6 separate regions of the Homo sapiens genome follow, and regions 1, 3, 4, 5 and 6 are each linked to region 2. Evidence: promoter capture Hi-C in human tissues and cell types (Jung and others, 2019). All regions are on one chromosome and are shown on one strand. The core of a region is centred on a gene start or on the middle of the fragment in contact, and the rest is flanking DNA. Distances in the headings are between cores, read along the strand shown. Region 1 holds the start of FBXW12 (F-box and WD repeat domain containing 12). Region 2 holds the start of CDC25A (cell division cycle 25A). Region 3 overlaps MAP4 (microtubule associated protein 4). Region 4 has its middle 16 kb from the start of MAP4. Region 5 overlaps MAP4 (microtubule associated protein 4). Region 6 holds the start of SPINK8 (serine peptidase inhibitor Kazal type 8 (putative)).

The links. The method cuts DNA at HindIII sites, captures the fragments that hold promoters and counts their contacts. A contact is called where the count stands out against the background at its distance.
Region 1: a contact is called between the fragment with the promoter of FBXW12 here and the fragment with the promoter of CDC25A in region 2, in 5 of the 25 tissues and cell types used here (IMR-90 fibroblasts, bladder, heart left ventricle and 2 more).
Region 3: a contact is called between a fragment that was not itself captured here and the fragment with the promoter of CDC25A in region 2, in 2 of the 25 tissues and cell types used here (aorta and mesendoderm cells).
Region 4: a contact is called between a fragment that was not itself captured here and the fragment with the promoter of CDC25A in region 2, in 5 of the 25 tissues and cell types used here (adrenal gland, aorta, bladder and 2 more).
Region 5: a fragment that was not itself captured here is called in contact with the fragment with the promoter of CDC25A in region 2 in 1 of the 25 tissues and cell types used here (pancreas).
Region 6: a contact is called between the fragment with the promoter of SPINK8 here and the fragment with the promoter of CDC25A in region 2, in 1 of the 25 tissues and cell types used here (IMR-90 fibroblasts).

Annotation. Positions count from the first base shown.
Region 1 is chr3:48,370,417-48,373,468 of GRCh38, forward strand. It overlaps FBXW12 (F-box and WD repeat domain containing 12), which reads left to right and starts at 1,803. Exons shown (of 11, transcript NM_207102.2): 1 at 1,803-1,904; 2 at 2,268-2,441; 3 at 2,892-2,929. The coding sequence starts at 2,352. The HindIII fragment of the contact is 16,322 bases long and covers 1-3,052 here.
Region 2 is chr3:48,187,013-48,189,848 of GRCh38, forward strand. CDC25A (cell division cycle 25A) reads right to left here and starts at 1,405. Exons shown (of 15, transcript NM_001789.3): 1 at 766-1,405. The coding sequence starts at 935. RefSeq lists an enhancer at 490-1,118 and a silencer at 862-1,071. The HindIII fragment of the contact is 16,525 bases long and covers 1-2,836 here.
Region 3 is chr3:47,936,863-47,939,850 of GRCh38, forward strand. The region is part of intron 3 of MAP4 (microtubule associated protein 4); the gene reads right to left. Among named protein-coding and RNA genes, the nearest start is that of MAP4, 78 kb to the right of the region's middle. RefSeq lists a silencer at 2,083-2,283. The HindIII fragment of the contact is 4,708 bases long and covers 1-2,988 here.
Region 4 is chr3:48,031,008-48,033,752 of GRCh38, forward strand. It overlaps a transcript of MAP4 not described here. Among named protein-coding and RNA genes, the nearest start is that of MAP4, 16 kb to the left of the region's middle. The HindIII fragment of the contact is 3,193 bases long and covers 1-2,745 here.
Region 5 is chr3:47,981,339-47,984,132 of GRCh38, forward strand. All of the region lies in intron 2 of MAP4 (microtubule associated protein 4), which reads right to left. Among named protein-coding and RNA genes, the nearest start is that of MAP4, 34 kb to the right of the region's middle. The HindIII fragment of the contact is 4,461 bases long and covers 1-2,794 here.
Region 6 is chr3:48,332,293-48,335,206 of GRCh38, forward strand. It overlaps SPINK8 (serine peptidase inhibitor Kazal type 8 (putative)), which reads right to left and starts at 1,369. Exons shown (of 8, transcript NM_001080525.3): 1 at 1,243-1,369; 2 at 74-179. RefSeq lists a silencer at 1,714-1,914. The HindIII fragment of the contact is 10,965 bases long and covers 1-2,914 here.

The sequences.
Region 1 (3,052 bases), core at 553-3,052, 180 kb after region 2:
TAGACGGGTGCCTTGCCTGCAGAAGGCGCCATGAAAGGTGTGCTGTTACTTCTCCCCTTGCTACGCCCCCTTTACTTCCCATGCTGTGTCGTCCCTCCCTCTCTGTCCTACTCTCAGGCTGCCCAACTCCTTATGGATCCCTCTTCTCAGGTTTCCCCAGCTGCCTGCTTTAATCTACTTTCTCCTAGACAATGTCCGGACCATTCTCTCACCTGCATCTTATCTTTTGCTTAGACTATTACGCAGTTACCATTTCACATCTCTCAAATTTTACATCTCTTAACTCTTGTGACATTTAGATTTGTCTTCATCTATTGTTGCAATGTGTCTTTCTCTGCCGCTTTTCTGGTAGCACCCCGCCACCACCACCCCCCAACACACCTTCCTGTTCCTCTATTTTTTTTGTTGTTGTTGTTGAGATGGAGTCTCGCACTGTCGCCCAGGCTGGAGTGCAGTAGCGCAATCTCAGCTCACTGCAACCTCCACCTCCCAGCTTCAAGCAATTCTCCTGCCTCAGCCTCCCAAGTAGCTGGGATTACAGGCACCCGCCACCACGCCCAGCTAATTTGTTGTATTTTTAGTAGAGACAGGGTTTCACTATGTTGGCCAAGCTGGTCTCAAACTCCTGACCTGGTGATCCACCCGCCTCGGCCTCCCCAAGTGCTGGGATTACGGGCATGAGCCACTGTGCCTGGCCTCTGTTCCTCTATTTCAAATTCATTCATTCACTCATTCGGCAATTTGCTTCAGTTTCCTTATGTTTGCCTCTTTCTCATCTGTCCTCTTTTCCATTTTATTCCTACTCTGTCTCAGTCCACTTACAGTTATATTTCCTATCTGTGTATTTTATAATATTTGTGCTTTAATACTTTTAAAATATCCTTTATTTTACTGTTTCTTCTCTTCCCTTGTCATATTTTAAAGTGTTTTATTTCTCAGCCTTCTATATCTTTGCATTAATTCTGTTCCTCTACAATAGAGTCCGTTCCAAGCTTTCTGTCTTCCTGTGTCCTTCCACGGCTCTGGCTCTCTCTGCATTATTTCCTATTTATGGAATACAAATCTTTTACCCTTGTATTTTTCTCACTCCTCTCCACACACCCCTTGACTCGCCTTTCCCCACGCCCCTCTAGGTGCTTCTTGGTCTTTGCTTTTCCTTTTTATTTCCTCACCATGTCAATTTGTATTTTTCCTCTCTCTTACTACTGTATCATAAATGGGACTCCCGACAACCACTCCCGTGTGTCTGCCTGGAGGCAGCAGTTTTAAGAAGGGTTGGCCACTGAGCCTCACAGAGGGACCCCTGTCTTATGCTGCAGCAAAGTACCATAGACTGGGTGGCTTACAAACAAATTTATTTCTCACAATTTTGGAGGAGAGAAGTCCAAGAGTCACCTGTCAGCACGGTCAGGTTCTGGTGTGGGCCTTCTTCCAGGTTGCAGCTGACACCTTCTCATGTCCTCGCATGATATGAACAGGGCTAGAGAGCGTTCTGGGGTCTCTTTTATAAGGTCACTGGTCCCATCATAAGGACTCTGCCTGTGACCCACTTACCTCCCAAAGGCCCCCCACCTCCAATCACACCAAGGGTTAGAATTTCAACGTAGGAATTTTGAGAGGACACAAACACCCAGGCTATGACACGGTCTTTAGAAAATCCCAGAATGAGTTGTCAGGTTCTTGGGAGATCTGTAACTGTGGGAAAGCGTCACATCCCAGGGAAAGCCACCAGCTGGGAGAGCCATCCCAGACAAGGCCTGCTCCCTTTGGGCGGACCTCTGTGGAGAAGCCAGCTTGGCACGTTCTTTCTCCTCCACTGCAAAGTTAAATGCGAGAAGGTAGAAACCCAGAGGCCATGCTGGCGCTGAGAGATGAGCCCCACTCACCAGATTCAAGATCCCAAGGTAGGCACAGACACAGGGCAAGCAGACTCCAATTCCAGGAGTTTGGAACTTAAATAGAGTCATAGAGACACTCAGATCTGATCAAAGTGAGTGCACTCGGTGACATTTCCTAAAGGGTTCTGACAACTTCATCTGCAACTGGGGCTGCCCCAGGTTCTGCACCTCCAGCTCACAGCGCACAGGTGTTGCTGAGCTCCTCTAAACAATGAACAGCACTAACAAGTGGGTTTAGGTAGGGATGCCTGCCAGCTGTGTGGATCAGGCCCCAGGGGAGAGGCCGGGGTGGAGGTCAGCCCGGGAGTCTGCACACCTGCAGCTTGTTTCTACCGCACACAGATGGGCATGGGTGAAAATCTTTACAAGTGCTGCAGACTTTGGCAAAGCCTATAAATTCAGAGCAGCCCGGAGAGGAGAAAGGAAAGTGGATGTGGGTTCAGGCCGCATGAAATGGAGATCCGATTGCCTGACTTAGCTTTGAAGCGAATCTTCTCTTTCCTGGACCTGTTCGGCTTGCTGCAGGTTTCCCAGGTGAACAAGGTAAAGGCCTTCCACCTCCCACTGCCCCCCAAGCCCGCTGCTTCTCTCGACCAGTTTGAGCACCACTTTGCAGAATAGCAGAGGGTTACACTGAGGCTTTGGGGGTTAGCATTCTTCATACTGAGGGCCTCATATTCTGTTAAACGAAAAGGACAAGCTGATATCCAGGAGTTGTGCTGACTAAACAGTCCTTGAGGCTCCCATTTCAAGCCCTAGGAAATCAACACTTCTTCCTGTGAATTCATGGGAATACCCAGTGCCTGTATTAGCAGTGATAGGTCTCTGTTGTTACCATTTCCTTATCTCCCCACACTGAGAGTGCTTTGAGAGCTGGAATCCCATCTGATTAACCTGTGCGGGCCCAGCTCCCAGAACAAATAATAGCAGAGGATTACCCTTGCTCTCTGATGTAACTGATTGCCTGCTTGTCTCTTCCTTTCTCTCCCATAGCATTGGAATAGGATTGCAGACAGTGATTACCTGTGGAGGTAAGGGAAGGGAAAGGGCAAGGAGGGAAGGGGAGAGGAGATCATCTGACTGCGCACCCATGCTGTGTCCCAAGGCCTGTGTGGCTGTGTTGTGAGATATACACAGGAAAGTTAGTGTGAGTA
Region 2 (2,836 bases), core at 155-2,654:
GCTATGGCAAATGTTGGGGTATTTCCTAAAATAAAAGCATGTGTTCTAAGTACTGAGACAGAGTCGGGATGAAAGTTGAACAGGACACTTTCTGCTTTTCAGAAGTTGGGAAACGCACAAGACATGTGCTTAGCAAACGGGATGCCAGAGATTGAAGGGAAAGTAGCTCTTCCGCGGGAAACACCGTGGGATGCATTTTTTGCTATCAGGAAAAGCCCAGGAAGCTTTCTGAAAGTTGGGTAAAAAGACCTGGCCTTAGGAAAGCAGCAGAGTGGACATCAGGAATGTGCACAGGGCGAGGGACTGAGATGATTTTACATAAACGCCAGGAAAGAAAATGCCATGGTCCTTTGTTGAGAAGGAACAAAGATCACAGCAAACGAAGATCCTGAGGATGGTTTAGCAAAGGGTGAAAGTGAGTGCCTAGAAGAGCCTGATTTTCCCCGCGGGGGTAGATTCCAAAGAGCTTCCAGGGATAGAGATAGAAGGAGAGTACGGAGCAATCCGAAAGGGGTGAAGGTGGGCCTGGCTCGGGCTTAGGCCCAAGGATCTCCACCTCTTCCCCTGGAAGGTCCCGACGGCCTCTCCCGCCCAACATTCCGCCCGGGCGGGGGTGCACATGGCAGGCCCTAGCCCGGCTGTCCCCGAGCGGCGAACCCGGACGGACGGGTCTCGCCCTTCTCCCGGTCCGTTTCCTGGCCTGATCTCTCCGAGGCCGACACCGAGGCCAGGGGCCCGGAGCACCGCCCGCCGGTCTCTCCTTACCTGCCCAGACCCTGCAGCTGGTCCATAGTGACGGTCAGGTTGGTGACAGGCGACAGTCCCCCGGCGGCTGAAGCGCCAAATAGCGCCTTCACGACGGGCTGCGACGCGGGAGGGGGGCTGCAGGCGAAGAGCAGGCGGCGGCGGTGCGGGGGCTCCGGGCCCAGTTCCATGGCGGCGCCCGGCCTCGCAGAGCTCCCGCTCCCTCTTCCTCTGCCTCCGCCGCGACCGCCCCGCCCCGCCGACACCGGCCTCGGCCGCGCGCCACCGGCGCCCGCGGGTCAAACACAAACACGACTCCGCGGTTCAGGGACGCGGCTGCCGCGGGCAAGCGGCGCGGCCGGGCGGGTGTGCGGACCCTCCAGGCGCCAGCCACCAGCCACAGGCACGGGTGCTTCCCTCTCACACCGCGAGGCCAGCGGGCGGGCGGGCGCCGGCAACCTGAAGATTAAATCCAAACAAACGTGGCGGGTCGGCAAGAGAAGCCGGGCGAGAGCCTCGAGGCAACGGCCCAGGCTCACGCTGTCTTCGCTGTTCTCCCACCCGCTTGCCCAGCTCCGGGTAGCAGAAAACCAAGCCGACCTACACCTCTTACCCAGGCTGTCGCAGCCAGGCCGGCCTTTCGCGGTAATAGCGGCTCAGTGGGGCCAGCTGCTGCCCCGCCCCCCTTTCCTAGTTGGCGCCAAACGGAATCCACCAATCAGTAAGCAACTTCTCCTCCTCTCAACCGAATGGCAGCTAGGCTGGGCCAATGAGAGGGGAAGAAGAAAGCGGCTCGCGGGACTCTGCCAGGTCATCGGCTCTCAGAAGGGGGCGGAGCCCAGAGCAGAAGAGCGGGGATCAAAATGAGAGGGGGAGCAGAGGTCAATGAAAACTCCCAGCAGAACCTGCGAGGCGCTGCTCGCGGCTGAAAGGCCCCTTTGCCCCGTCGCATGCTGGGAAGCGTAGTTCCCATCGCGAGCTGCCGTCCAGTTAGCTTCGGCCCCCTTTGGGCCTCCGCTACCTCGCCCCCAGCCGGGCGCCCCACACTCTGAGGCAATGTGGAGGCTAAGGAAGACCTGTGGAGGTCTGGCCGGATCCAGCCTTGGCTCGGCCTCTAACCGTGCAGTATTGTGGACCCCTTTCTTCCGCCCCGGGCCTCCAGGCCCCATTTTATAATGAGGGAGGGAATGCAATGACCCCCAGGACTGGACTCGACCACCAGGGCCCAACTCTGGAGGGCTCACAGACCCTGGGTGCTGCTGGCCTCATGGGATTTGAACCCCGCAGTACAACCTGTGCTGTGGGCCTCAGCATTTTTTGCTCACTTCCATTCTAGCCCTTATTGGATGCTCTTAGAATCATTTCTTTCTTTCCCACCACTTCTTAGCCCCCTGGGAGCTCCTAGAGAGAAATAACAGCAAACACAATAATAGCAAATAATAGCTAAAGTTTACATAATGCTTATGCACTTGACACTGTTCCCAGTGTGTTAATCTGTATTAATTCATTTAATCTTTACAACTCTGTGACATAGGAATTATCCCCATTTTCTAAGTGGGCATATTTACTTTTACAGCGCCGAACCTGTGGCAGCTCCTAGACGGATTTTGAGGGCCATAAGTGCATGATTTAATTGCAACCTACTGCTGGGCTTAGTGGCTCACGCCTATCATCCCAGCACTTTGGGAGGGCGAGGTGGGAGGATTGCCTGAGCCCACGAATTTGAGACCAGCCTGGGCAACAAAGTGAGACACCCCCTGCCCCCCACTCAAAAAAAAAAAACCCTACAGTTTGAAAAGCCATGCTGGACAGGTGGAAACCCCAAACCTTTGGCCCCAACACCAGACCCTTCACAGTGAGGAACCTCTCTCTCAGGATTCATCTCCTTTTCTGTGCACCAGTGCTCCACCACCCAGGAACCTCCCTTCCCTCCAGAAACCCCAGGCTATTTAGGCCTCTCTGCACAGTTCACATGGTCTGTGGTCCCACTGTTTCAAATAGTTCTCCCTGTCGTATCTCTGAATACTTTCCTCTCCTCCTGTGTTTTATGTGGTTTAATACTTGGCTCAACAGGCCGGGAGCGGTGGCTCAC
Region 3 (2,988 bases), core at 60-2,559, 250 kb before region 2:
CCAGCTACTCGGGAGGCTGAGGCAAGAGAACTGCTTGAACCCGGGAGGTGGAGGTTGCAGTGAGCCAAGATCGCGCCACTGCACTCCGGCTTGGGTGACAAGAGCGAAACTCCGTCTCAAAAAAAAAAAAAAAAAGAAAAGAAAGAAAACAGAATCAGGAGACCCAGGTTCTAATCTTGACTCTGCCACTTAACTTTGGGTGTGACCTTAAGACTGTTAGAGCTACACTACTCATCCAGAATTAAAAAAAAAAATTGTGCTACATAATTTCTGAAGCCCATTTTAATTTTAAAATTAATTCTGAGACTTTTGACTTATCCATTCATCTTTATAATTCTCAAAAATCTGGTAAAACATAACTTACAAATAAGACTCAGCAGTTATTAGACAGATGAAATACTTGGTCATTTAAGTAGATGAAAGTACTCATTACTTGTCTAAGCCAGAAAAATGACGATGAATTAAAGAACAAACCACAGCATCCTCGGGAAGGTTCACAAGTGGCATATACACTGAGCAGAGGGGAAGAAAAGGTGATGAAACTTGGATAAACGCCTTTTTAAATTAGTAAAAATATTAAAAGCAATATGTTTTTTCATAGGATTAATATATTTGTCTTAGTTCTTGAATCACAAAACACAAATGTAATAAAACAACCCCATTCTGGATTACTGCAGTGAAATTAATCAGAAAATTATAGGAGAAAGATGTTTCTGATGTTCTCAGGTTGAAGGTAGGAATCAATCTCAGAACCTTTGGCTACCTTCAAGAACAGCTTTTCCTTTTTCTTCTTCTTTTTTTTTTTTTTTTTTTTTTGAGACGAAGTCTCACTCTTGTCCCCCAGGCTGGAGCGCGATAGCACAATCTCAGCTCACTGCAACCTCTGCCTCCCGGGTTCAAGCGATTCTCCTGCCTCAGCCTCCTGAGTAGCTGGGATTACAGGCGCCTGCCACCATGCCCGGCTAATTTTTGTATTTTTAGTAGAGACGAGGTTTCACCATGTTGGCCAGGATGGTCTCGAACTCCTGACCTCAGGTGATCCGCCCGCCTCAGTCTCCCAAAGTGCTGGGATTACAGGCATGAACCACTGCACCCAGCCATTTTTCTTCTTTTATTATTATTATTAAATATTCTAAAAAATCTATAGAGGGAAAGGAGGGAGAGAACAGCTGGGCACCAGCAGACATATTTGAGTTCTTACTTTTATTTTATTGAGACAAGATCTCTGCTGGGTGTGGTGGCTCATGCCTGTAATCCCAGCACTTTGGGAAGGCAGAGGCAGGCAGATCACTTGAGGTCAGGAGTTAGAGACCAGCCTGGCCAACATGATGAAACGCTGTCTCTACTAAAAATACAAAAATTAGCCACGCATGGTGGCGCACACCTGTAATCCTACTCGGGAGGCTGAGACAGGAGAATTGTTTGAACCTGGGAGGTGGAGGTTGCAGTGAACCGAGACTGTGCCACTGCACCCAGCCTGGGCGACAGAGCGAGATTCTGTCTCAAAGGAAAAAAAGAAAAAAGGGAATTGTTAATTGAGACAAGGTCTGACTGTCTCCCAGGTATAGTGGCGCAATCACAGCTCACTGCGGCCTCAACTTCCTGGGCTCAAGCAATCCTCCCCTCTCAGCTTCTCCAGTAGCTAAGGACACAGATGTGTGCCACTATGCCCTTCTAATTTATTATTGTTATTATTTTGGGGGTAGAGACAGGGTCTCCATACATTGCCCAGGCTGGCGTTGAACAACTGGGCTCAAGCAATCCTCCGGATTTGACCTCCCAAAGTGCTAGGATTACATGCATGAGCCTCTATACCAGGCCCATATTTGAGTTCTTAACCCTGGCTTTGCCACAGGCTAACCATGTAAATTTGGGACAGCCCTTTCATCTCTCTTAGTCACAGTAATGACCTCTAAGGATACTTGTTCAGTTCTAAAATTATGGTTAAGTAAAAAACATTCTTCAAGTCACATCCTATTTAGAGAAGGTGCACCTATCCATCTATTTCAAAGCTTATAAAGACGATGTGTTTAGGGCTTCAACAACACAAAACATTATTACGGCAAATGTTAGATGCTAATCTAAAGCCTTCCTTACCCATCAAATGAACCCATCCCAGGCTTGTTCCCTACTACTCCAACAGGAAAGTCATGCAGTAAGTATGCTGTCCCCTCATGGCTCCTGCTAGAGCCTGTGCTCCACTCTGCCCCTGTGCCTTTGCTCATGAGATCACTGATCCCCTGCTTGAAATGTCTCCTCCCTGATCCAATTCCAAAGCCACCACTTGGGCCTCATAGCTTCCACAGAACCTCTCTGATGACTTTAATGCTCATTTTCCACTACTTAGCTCTTTTACCATTCACTGTTACTAGGAAAGAATTTAGTCCTTAAGCACATGTTTTCCTGTTAGTCTTTTTTTAAAAAATTAAAAAGCCTTTAAGTATTCTATTTATCATTAAAATTTTCATTATTTTACATGTTAGTAAGTGAACTCATTAATGTTTAAAAAGAAAATACTGTGCTTTTACTACTTTTATTTCCTCACAATGCCTAGCTAACTGCATGAGACAGAATAGTATTCAATAAATAAGTTGCTATCAAATTATCACAAGATCATTATTTGGGCTAAATGATGTAAGTTAAATTCACATTATACACCAAACTTCTTGGAAAGTGATTTGCATTTATTATAAAGAGCATAAGGTTGGTGACATAATGTTTTTTTTTAAAAAAGCATAAGGAATTCCAAAATAATTTAAACAATAGCCTATCATTTCTAAGATAGACATTAAAAACTCTGATTCTGCTTATATTTCTTACTCATGGTAAGAAACTGTAAAGAAATAGTTTTTTTTTTTTTTTTAAACAACCACCTCTTGATCAAAAAATAAGTTTTTAATCAGAGAAATGGGTACATTTTCCTCACCCCTCCTGGAGAAGGAGCATGAAAGTCTGTTTTTTGTTGTTGTTGTTTTTTTCATTTTTTTA
Region 4 (2,745 bases), core at 6-2,505, 160 kb before region 2:
CATAGCACATAGTGACCTCCTTCTAAAGAGTACAATATGAAAATGGGAGGGGGGGGTAAGAGAAATATGACAAATACTACCTAAGCCAAGTGATCAAGACTAATATCAATAGTGATAAATCAGCTGGGTGCAATGGCTTACATCTGTAATCCCAGCACTTTGGCAGGCCAAGGCAGGAGGTTCACTTGAGGCCAGGAGTTCTGACACCAACTTAGGCAAGCAACATGGCGAAACCCCATCTCTATGAAAAATACAAAAATTAGGCTGGGTGCGGTGGCTCACACCTGTAATCCCAGCACTTTGGGAAGCCAAAGTAGGGGGATCTCAAGGTCAGGAGATTGAGATCATCCTGGCTAACATGGTGAAACCCTGTCTCTACTAAAAATACAAAAAGTTAGCTGGGTGTGGTGGCACATGCCTGTAGTCCCACCTACTTGGGAGGCCGAGGCAGGAGAATCACTTGAACCCAGGAGACGGAAGTTACAGTGAGCCAAGGTCGCGCCACTGCACTCCAGCCTGGGCGACAGAGCAAGACTCCATCTCAAAAAAAAACAAAAAAACAAAAAAATTAGCCAGGCATGGTGGTACGTGCCTGTAGTCCCAACTACCCGGGAGGCTGAGGTGGGAGGATCACTTGGGCCCTGGAGGCCAGGGTTGCGGTAAGCCACGATCGTGCCACTGCAACCCAGCCTGGGCAACAGAGCAAGACTCTTTCTCAAAAAAAAATTAGCTGGGCTTGGTGGCATGTGCCTATGGTCCCAGCTATTTGGGAAGCTGAGTTGAGAGGAAGCTTGAGTCGAGTCCAGGAGGTTCCAGTGAACTGTGATCACAGCACTGTACTCCAGCTTGAGTGATAAAGCAAAACACACACATACACACACACATACACACACACACACACACAGACATAAATCATGCTGACATGATTTGATAGTATGCACCCTTGATATAATGTGATAAGAGTGGCACTTTACCTCTGTGATCTTCCTTCTAAAAAGCATAACCTCTGTCTAATCATGAGAAAAAGATCAGACAACTCCCAACTGAAGGACACTCTACAAAATATCAGACCAGTACTCCTCAAAACTGTCAAAGTCATCAAAAACAAGGGAGGTGTAAGAAACTGTCATAGCCAAGAGAAAGCTAAGTATGATAACTAAACATAATGTGGTATCCTAGATGAGATCCTAGAACAGAAAAAGGTATTTAGGTAAAAATTAAGGAAATCTAAATAAACTATGAACTTTAGTTAATAATAATGTATGAAAATTGAGGTCAGGAGTTCGCGAGCGGCCTGGCCAACATGGTGAAACTGCATTTCTACTAAAAAAAAATAATAAAAAAATTAGATGGGCATGGTGGTGTGCGCCTGTAATCCCAGCTACTAGGGAGACTCAGGCAGGAGAATTACTTGAATCTCGGAGGCGGAGGTTGCAGTTAGCCCAAGATCGCACCACTACACTCCAGCCTGGGCAAGAGAGCAAGACTCCGTCTCAAAAAAAAAAAAATTAGCCAGGTGTGGTGGCAGGCACCTGTAATCCCAGCTACTCAGGAGGCTGAGGCAGGAGAATCGCTTGAACCCAGGAGACAGAGGTTGCAGTGAGCTGAGATTGTGGCACTGCACTCCAGCCTGGGTGACAGAGAAAGACTCCTTCTCAAAAACAAACAAAAACAAAAAATTCTAGTAATAACCATTATTTACTTCCAACTTAAATCTGATCCACGACCTAAAACTGCACTCTGAAATAATCTACAATTCCCCTGAGAAACTTAATAAATATAGACAAAAGTGTGTATATCAATTAACTTACAAGTCTCTAATCACTGCAAACTAGCTGACTCTCGTTAAAGCTTCAAATCTTAAAGTTCTACCACTGGTACTCTTAGAAGCTAACTTACCCTTGTTGATCACAGAGAGACAACAGTGACCAAGTCTAATAAAAGCTTATTCATGTACACAGAAACAAAACAAAGTAACTTGGTGATGTGCACATCTAATATTTCCAACCAAATCACAAAACTTTAGAAAGGGCATTTGAATCCAACCTCCTTATTTTAAAAGTGAGAAAAGTCCAAGGAGATTAACAAATATATTTGTTCAAAGTCATCCCTGAGTTCTCAACTAAAAGTAGAATTTCTTTTCTGTCCTATATCCCAAATCAGGAAGCAAGGGGAAAAGGTAGGAGGTATTATCATTCTGATCATCATTTCCTCTGCTAACTTAGAATGCTTTCGTTTCTCAGGGATAAAGAAGGTAAGTCCAGCTATATCTATGTATTGGAAATAGCATCACATAGCTCTCCTTTTTAAAATGGCATGCCCTCCTCATGTGGATTTTTATCTTCTATTTAACTATCAGTTATCGCACTATGCTTCTACAGTTAGTATCTATGATGTGAAAGTTGAAGCCCTGGTTAAAGCTTCTTAAATCTACCATTTTATTTTGTACAAACAGAAAAGTATATTAGTTTTCTTTCCAGCTGTCCTTAATTTTTTTAATTGAAGTGAAGTTTACATAACATACAATTAACCATTTTAAAGTACATTATGATTTCTCTCCAGTTTCAAACTGTCCTTAAGAATTTTTTTATTTTTATTTTTAATTTTTTTGAAACGGGAGTCTCGCTCTGTCACCCAGGCTTGAGTGCAGTGGTAGGATCTCAGCTCACTGCAACCTCCGCCTCCGAGGTTCAAGTGATTCTCCTGCCTCAGCCTCCAGAGTAGCTGGGATTATAGGTGCACGCC
Region 5 (2,794 bases), core at 289-2,788, 210 kb before region 2:
GAGTCCAGGAATTTGAGACCAGCCTGGGCAACATAGTGTGACCCCATCTCTAAAAATAAATAAATAAATAAATAAATTAGCTGGGTGTGGTGGCACACGCCTATAGTCCTTATCTCGTAATAAAAAATAATAATAATAAAAAAGAACCTGGCCAGGTGCAGTGGCTCAAGCCTATAATCCCAGCACTTTGGGAGGCTGAGGCAGGTGGATCACTTGAGGTCAGGAGTTCGAGACCTGCCTGGCCAATGCGGTGAAACCCCATATCTACTAAAATACAAAAAATTAGCCAGGCATAGTGGCGTGTGAATCACAACTACTCTAGAGGCTGAAGCACAAGAATAGCTTGAACCTGGGAGGCAGAGGTTGCAGTGAGCTGAGATCGTGCCACTGCACTCCAGTCTGGGCGACAGAGCAAGACTCCATCTCCCAAAAAAAAAAAAAAGCTTTATTCCCATATATTTACCTATGTGATTAGGGTTTCTTCACTATGATAGCTACAAAAACAGGAAAAATTGCCAATCCTATTTCATCAGAGAAAGAAATATTGATCCACAGACCCATGATTTAATTGAGAAAAATAACAGACCCCATCATCTCATAAGAAAAGCATTTCCAATAAAATTCAACTTGTATAGTAATAACATCAAAAATTACAACCTATGTTGGCCGGGCACAGTGGCTCATGCCTGTAATCCCAGCAATTTGGGAAGCCAAGGTGAGCAGATCACTTGAGGCCAGGAATTCGAGACCAGCCTGGTCAACACAGTAAAGCCCATCTCTACTCTTCTTGAGGAAACAAATAGGATTAAGTGAAAATGAAGGGAGATTTAAAAAAAACATAATACATGCAATAGACTGATAAATTTCCTCTGGACCAAGTTAAAACACAGAACCTTTGTCACAGGAACTTTAAAAATTAAAATTTAAGTTTACATACATATTTAGTAGCAGAAACATATTAGCACAATCAAGAAAAAACTTTTAAGCATAAAAATATATTACATTAGGATAAAAGTCTGAGACATGTTATGGAAATAAAAGTTCAAGGACTCAAAAGAAGAATTTAAATTTCCAATGATAAAGAACAGCTTGTTCGTATATTTTTAAACTAGATGATGGAAACCAAAATGCTATATATTTAGAAGCATTTGGATACATTTAGCAGAATGAGGTAACTTATTTTTATGTGGCAAAAGTAAAACATTCTCAAAATTACATGTTTTACAACTAAACTTTTGCTACAAAATTTTAGATGTAAACTTAATGTACAAAGAGACAGAATTTATCAGAATTCTGAGTATGTGACCAAAAGTTAAGACCACTACTTTAGACCAAGTTAAAAAGAAAGCTTGATATATACTGACAGAAAGTTTTCTAAGATAATAAACTAAAAAAAGCAAGTTAAAATTCATACGATTTGATTCCATTTGTAAAATGGAATCAAATGAAAGTAAAGCCACTAAATTTTTTATTGTATGTTTGTAACTGCAAAGAATAAAGTCTTAAAAGATCTACCCTTCTTGAGGAAATAAATAAGATTACATGAAAATGAAGGGAGTTTTCTTTGTTTTTTGTTTGAGACAGAGTCTAGCTCTATCGCCAAGACTGGAGTGCAGTGGCGCAATCTTGGCTCACTGCAACCTCTGTCTCCCGGGTTCAAGCAATTCTCCTGTCTCAACATCCCAAGTAGCTGGTAGCTGGGACTACAGGCGTGCGCCACCACTCTCAGCTAATTTTTTTATCTTCATTAGAGACAGGTTTTCACCATATTGGCCAGGCTGATGTCAAACTCCCGACCTCAAGTGATCTGCCTGCCTCAGCCTCCCAAAGTGATAGAATTACAGGCATGAGCCATGGCACCCGGCAAAGATTTTGACTTAATTTTTAAGAGAGAGGGTTTTGCTCTGTTGCCCAGGCTGGAATGCAGTGGTATAATCACACCTCACTGTAACCTCAAAATGCTGGGTTCAAATGATCCTCCTCCCTCAGCCTCCCAAGTATATGGTGACAACAGGTGTGCACCGCCACAGTTGGCTTATTTATTTATTTATTTATTTATTTAATTTGAGACTGAGTCTCCCTCTGTCACCCAGGCTGGAGTGCAGTGGCACAATCTCAGCTCACTGCAACCTCTGCCTCCCAGGTTCAAGCGATTCTCATGCCTCAGCCTCCTGAGTAGCTGGGGCTACAGGCATGTGCCACCATGCCCGGCTAATTTTTTGTATTTTTAGTAGAAACAGGATTTCACCGTGTTGGCCAGGCTGGTCTCTAACTCCTGACCTCAGGTGATCCACCTGCTTCGGCCTCCCAAAGTGCTGGGATTACAGGAGTGAGCCACCACGCCCAGACAATTCTATTTGTATAAAGACAGGGTCTCACTAAGTTGCTCAGGCTGGTCTCAAACTCCTGGGCTCAAGTGGTACTCCTGCCTCAGTCTCCCAAGTAGCTGGGACTACAGGCGTGAGCCACCATGATCAGCCTCGTCCACTGAGCTTTAATTCAATGCTACTTTATTTATTTTGTTGCTCAAATTTTTCCAGTGTTGGCTATTGGGAACTCTTTCAGTTGACTCCTGTGTCCCTCTGACACACTATCTCTGTCATTGTGGGCTTTGGAGCATAACTCCAACAGTCTTTTTATAAATGATCTGTGCAATTAAAGGTAATTTTTTTTTCCAGTGAAGGGCATAAATAATGAGATTTAATTGCGAATAATATGCATAATGGAAGTCTCATTTGCACATATCTGTTTACTTTCTCCCTGCCTTTCCTCCTGCCTCAGCCTCCTGAGTAGT
Region 6 (2,914 bases), core at 119-2,618, 150 kb after region 2:
TTAAGTTTTGTTCCAGGCCTAAGGCGGATTTTGAAGTTTTTTTCTAATGTCTGCAGCTGAGTGATAAACTTACCCTTTAAGATTAGTTGGCCTTCAATAGATCCAGATGACAGAGAGGTATGCTTCCTCAATGCCTCCCTTAGTCTCTCCAGAAAGGCAGTAGGATTTTCTTCCTTTCCCTGTGTTATAGTGGGCATCATTGAATAATTCATAGGCTTCTTCCTAGTTTTTCTTAGTCCTTCTAGCATGCAAGTTAGCAAATGTCTGCGGCACCAATCTCCACATTCTGATTCTGCGTCCCATTGAGGGTCTACACTGGGAACTGCCTGCTGGCCTGTGGGGAATCGTTCTCTTTCCTCTGTTGTCATCCTATCATTGACCTGACTGAGATACCAGAGATTGCCAAACTCTTGGGCTGCAGTTATAGCGGCACTTCTCTCATTTGGGGTTAGTATCTGATCTAGCAGTAACATTATGTCTCTCCATGTCAGATCAAAGGATTGTCCTAACCCTTGTAAAACATCAATATAGCCATCAGGGTTATTTGAGAATTTACCTAGGTCTATTTTAATTTGCTTCAAGTCTGAGAGGGAAAAAGGTACACACACTCTGGGCTGAATTCTCCTCCTCCCACCACTTCAAGGGGGCATAATCTGGGAATATTGGCACTCTTTGGTTCATTGTTTACCCCTTTCTCTATCTCCTTTGGCACCGTTTGTGTTGAAGGGGGGTCATTATTAGTTGGGGAAGGAGCCGGGGGAACGCCGGGGCAGGGGGGTAGATTCTGAGGGCTTCCTGTAGGGCATAAATCACACTTTTAACATAATTGTGAGTTGTCTCTTAATGAAAAGAAAGTTTGCACATATGGCACTTCGCTCCATTTGCCCTATTTTCTACAAAAGAAGTCTAGCTGTAAGATGGTGTTATAATTTATACTTCCCTTGGAGGGCATGTTTCTCCCTCTTGAAGAGGATATTGTGGCCAGGGGTACTGCAGAAGAATATAAGTCGTTTCTTTCTTAGCATCTGAGGGTCAAATTGGTCCTAATTCTCTAGAATACATCTTAGGGGCGTTTTTGCCTGGGAGGGGGGAACGTTTAAAAAGAACATAGGGATGCCAGCACCCCTAGTCATTTTCTGATGAGCATTAGTCCTAGAGCGTCCTCTGTGGTCCTAATGCTTATTCCTTTTCAGGGTGCGTAACCACCCACGGACCTCTGCTTATCAGATTAGTTACACTCACCGATGTAGCAGTCCTGCACCTGTTTTCCTGCCCTTCTTGACCACAAAGAAAGGGGTCTGGGCTGCTGGATTCTAGTGGTCCTTTACCAGCGTGCCTGACATTGCCTTTGCACTCAGGAGTGAGTTCTAGAGCTGGGCTGGGTTTCTGAGTATTTCATAACAACCCAGTTGCCCCATCAAGATGCATTTTCATAAACAACAGTTCTTATGCAAATTCGTTTCAGAGAGGGTGTAGGTAACCTTTTGAGTCAGGATTGAGATAGAGTTTTTGCCCACTAGGGCCTTTGTCCTTTTCCTTTGTAGGAATATGCCTTAATTATCGAACTTAAGATTTTGTTGCCCTGGATTAAGTCCTTTTGGGTACGAAATATGAGAGATGGCTCCTGTTTATCCTATGTGCCTTTTTCCTACGAGAAGGAGAGCGAGGAGAAAAAGATGGGCTTGCTCTTTTTGTAAGTACTTTAAGGCTTGGCTGAGTGCAAACAGCTCGCAGTTTGTGCAGACCAATTATGAGGCAATTCTCCTAACTCTGCTTCCACAAGAGTTTCCTTATCAATTACTGAATACCCATTGTGGTTTTTTCCTCAATCGCCTGGGAGGAACCATCTATCGTCCTATCCTAAAGGAAGTTCCTCCTAGGTCTGGTTGGACCTTTGCATGGCAATTAAGATTTAAATCCCCTGTTAGGAAATCTGCTGGGTTAAGGGAATTATCAGTGGTTGGTGTTAAATCACCTTTTTCTAACAGAATAGCCCCATACTTTAAGAATTTTGAGCTAGTAAGCTACCTTTTTTTTTTTTTTTTTTTGGTCTTAGGATTGTTCTGAACTGGTGAGGTGTGCTCACAATGAGGTTTCCTCTAAAGGTTATTTTTCTACTTTATTCTGTTAGCAAAGCAGTTGCCACTACAGATTGAATGCATTTGGGCCATCCACGGGTTACTGGGTTCAGGATTTTTGATAGGAAGGCTATGGGTTGTCAGTGGTCTCAGTGTTTTCGGGCTACGCCCTTGTTTACACTGACAACAAGGTAGTATTGGAGTATTATAGGGTCGTGGAGAAGACCTTTAATTATCAATTATAGGTTCTAAATTTACCTTGGCTTTTAAAGGAATAGGGTACACTGTTTTTTCTTTACTACCTCTCTCTTTCCCTTTTTTCTTTCTTTCTCTCTTTGACTTTCTGCCTCTTCCTCTCTCTGTCTGTCTTTTTTTAGATGGATTTTGGAAACGCAGTGGAAGGACGTTCACTTGTTGCCCCAGTTTGCCACTATAGGAACATGTGCCTCCCTTTAATTTACTCAAATTCGTTTTCATCCTGATCTATTATGTTGTTGTAGACTCAGTTCCAGTTGTTAAAATACTGGGTTATCAGTTCTAAGGGCCTGGCCAAGGAGCCAAGGCTTGGAGATTGTATTGCAGGGGGTAGTAAACTGGGTAGAAATTAGGGGAGGAGAGCATCTTACACAATGGGAGAGCGATCTTCCTAGCTATTTACAAACTTGGGGCCCTGGCAAGGGTGGTGGGGAATGGGTCCCACATAACAGCCCATGTTGACAGCTATATACCTAAATTGGGAGGGACACCAGGGGCAAGACTCCCTGGGTTCATAGCCTAGATATCTAAGGCCACAGCATAGAGCTTCCTTAGATCTCTTTGGAGATACAACTTGCTCT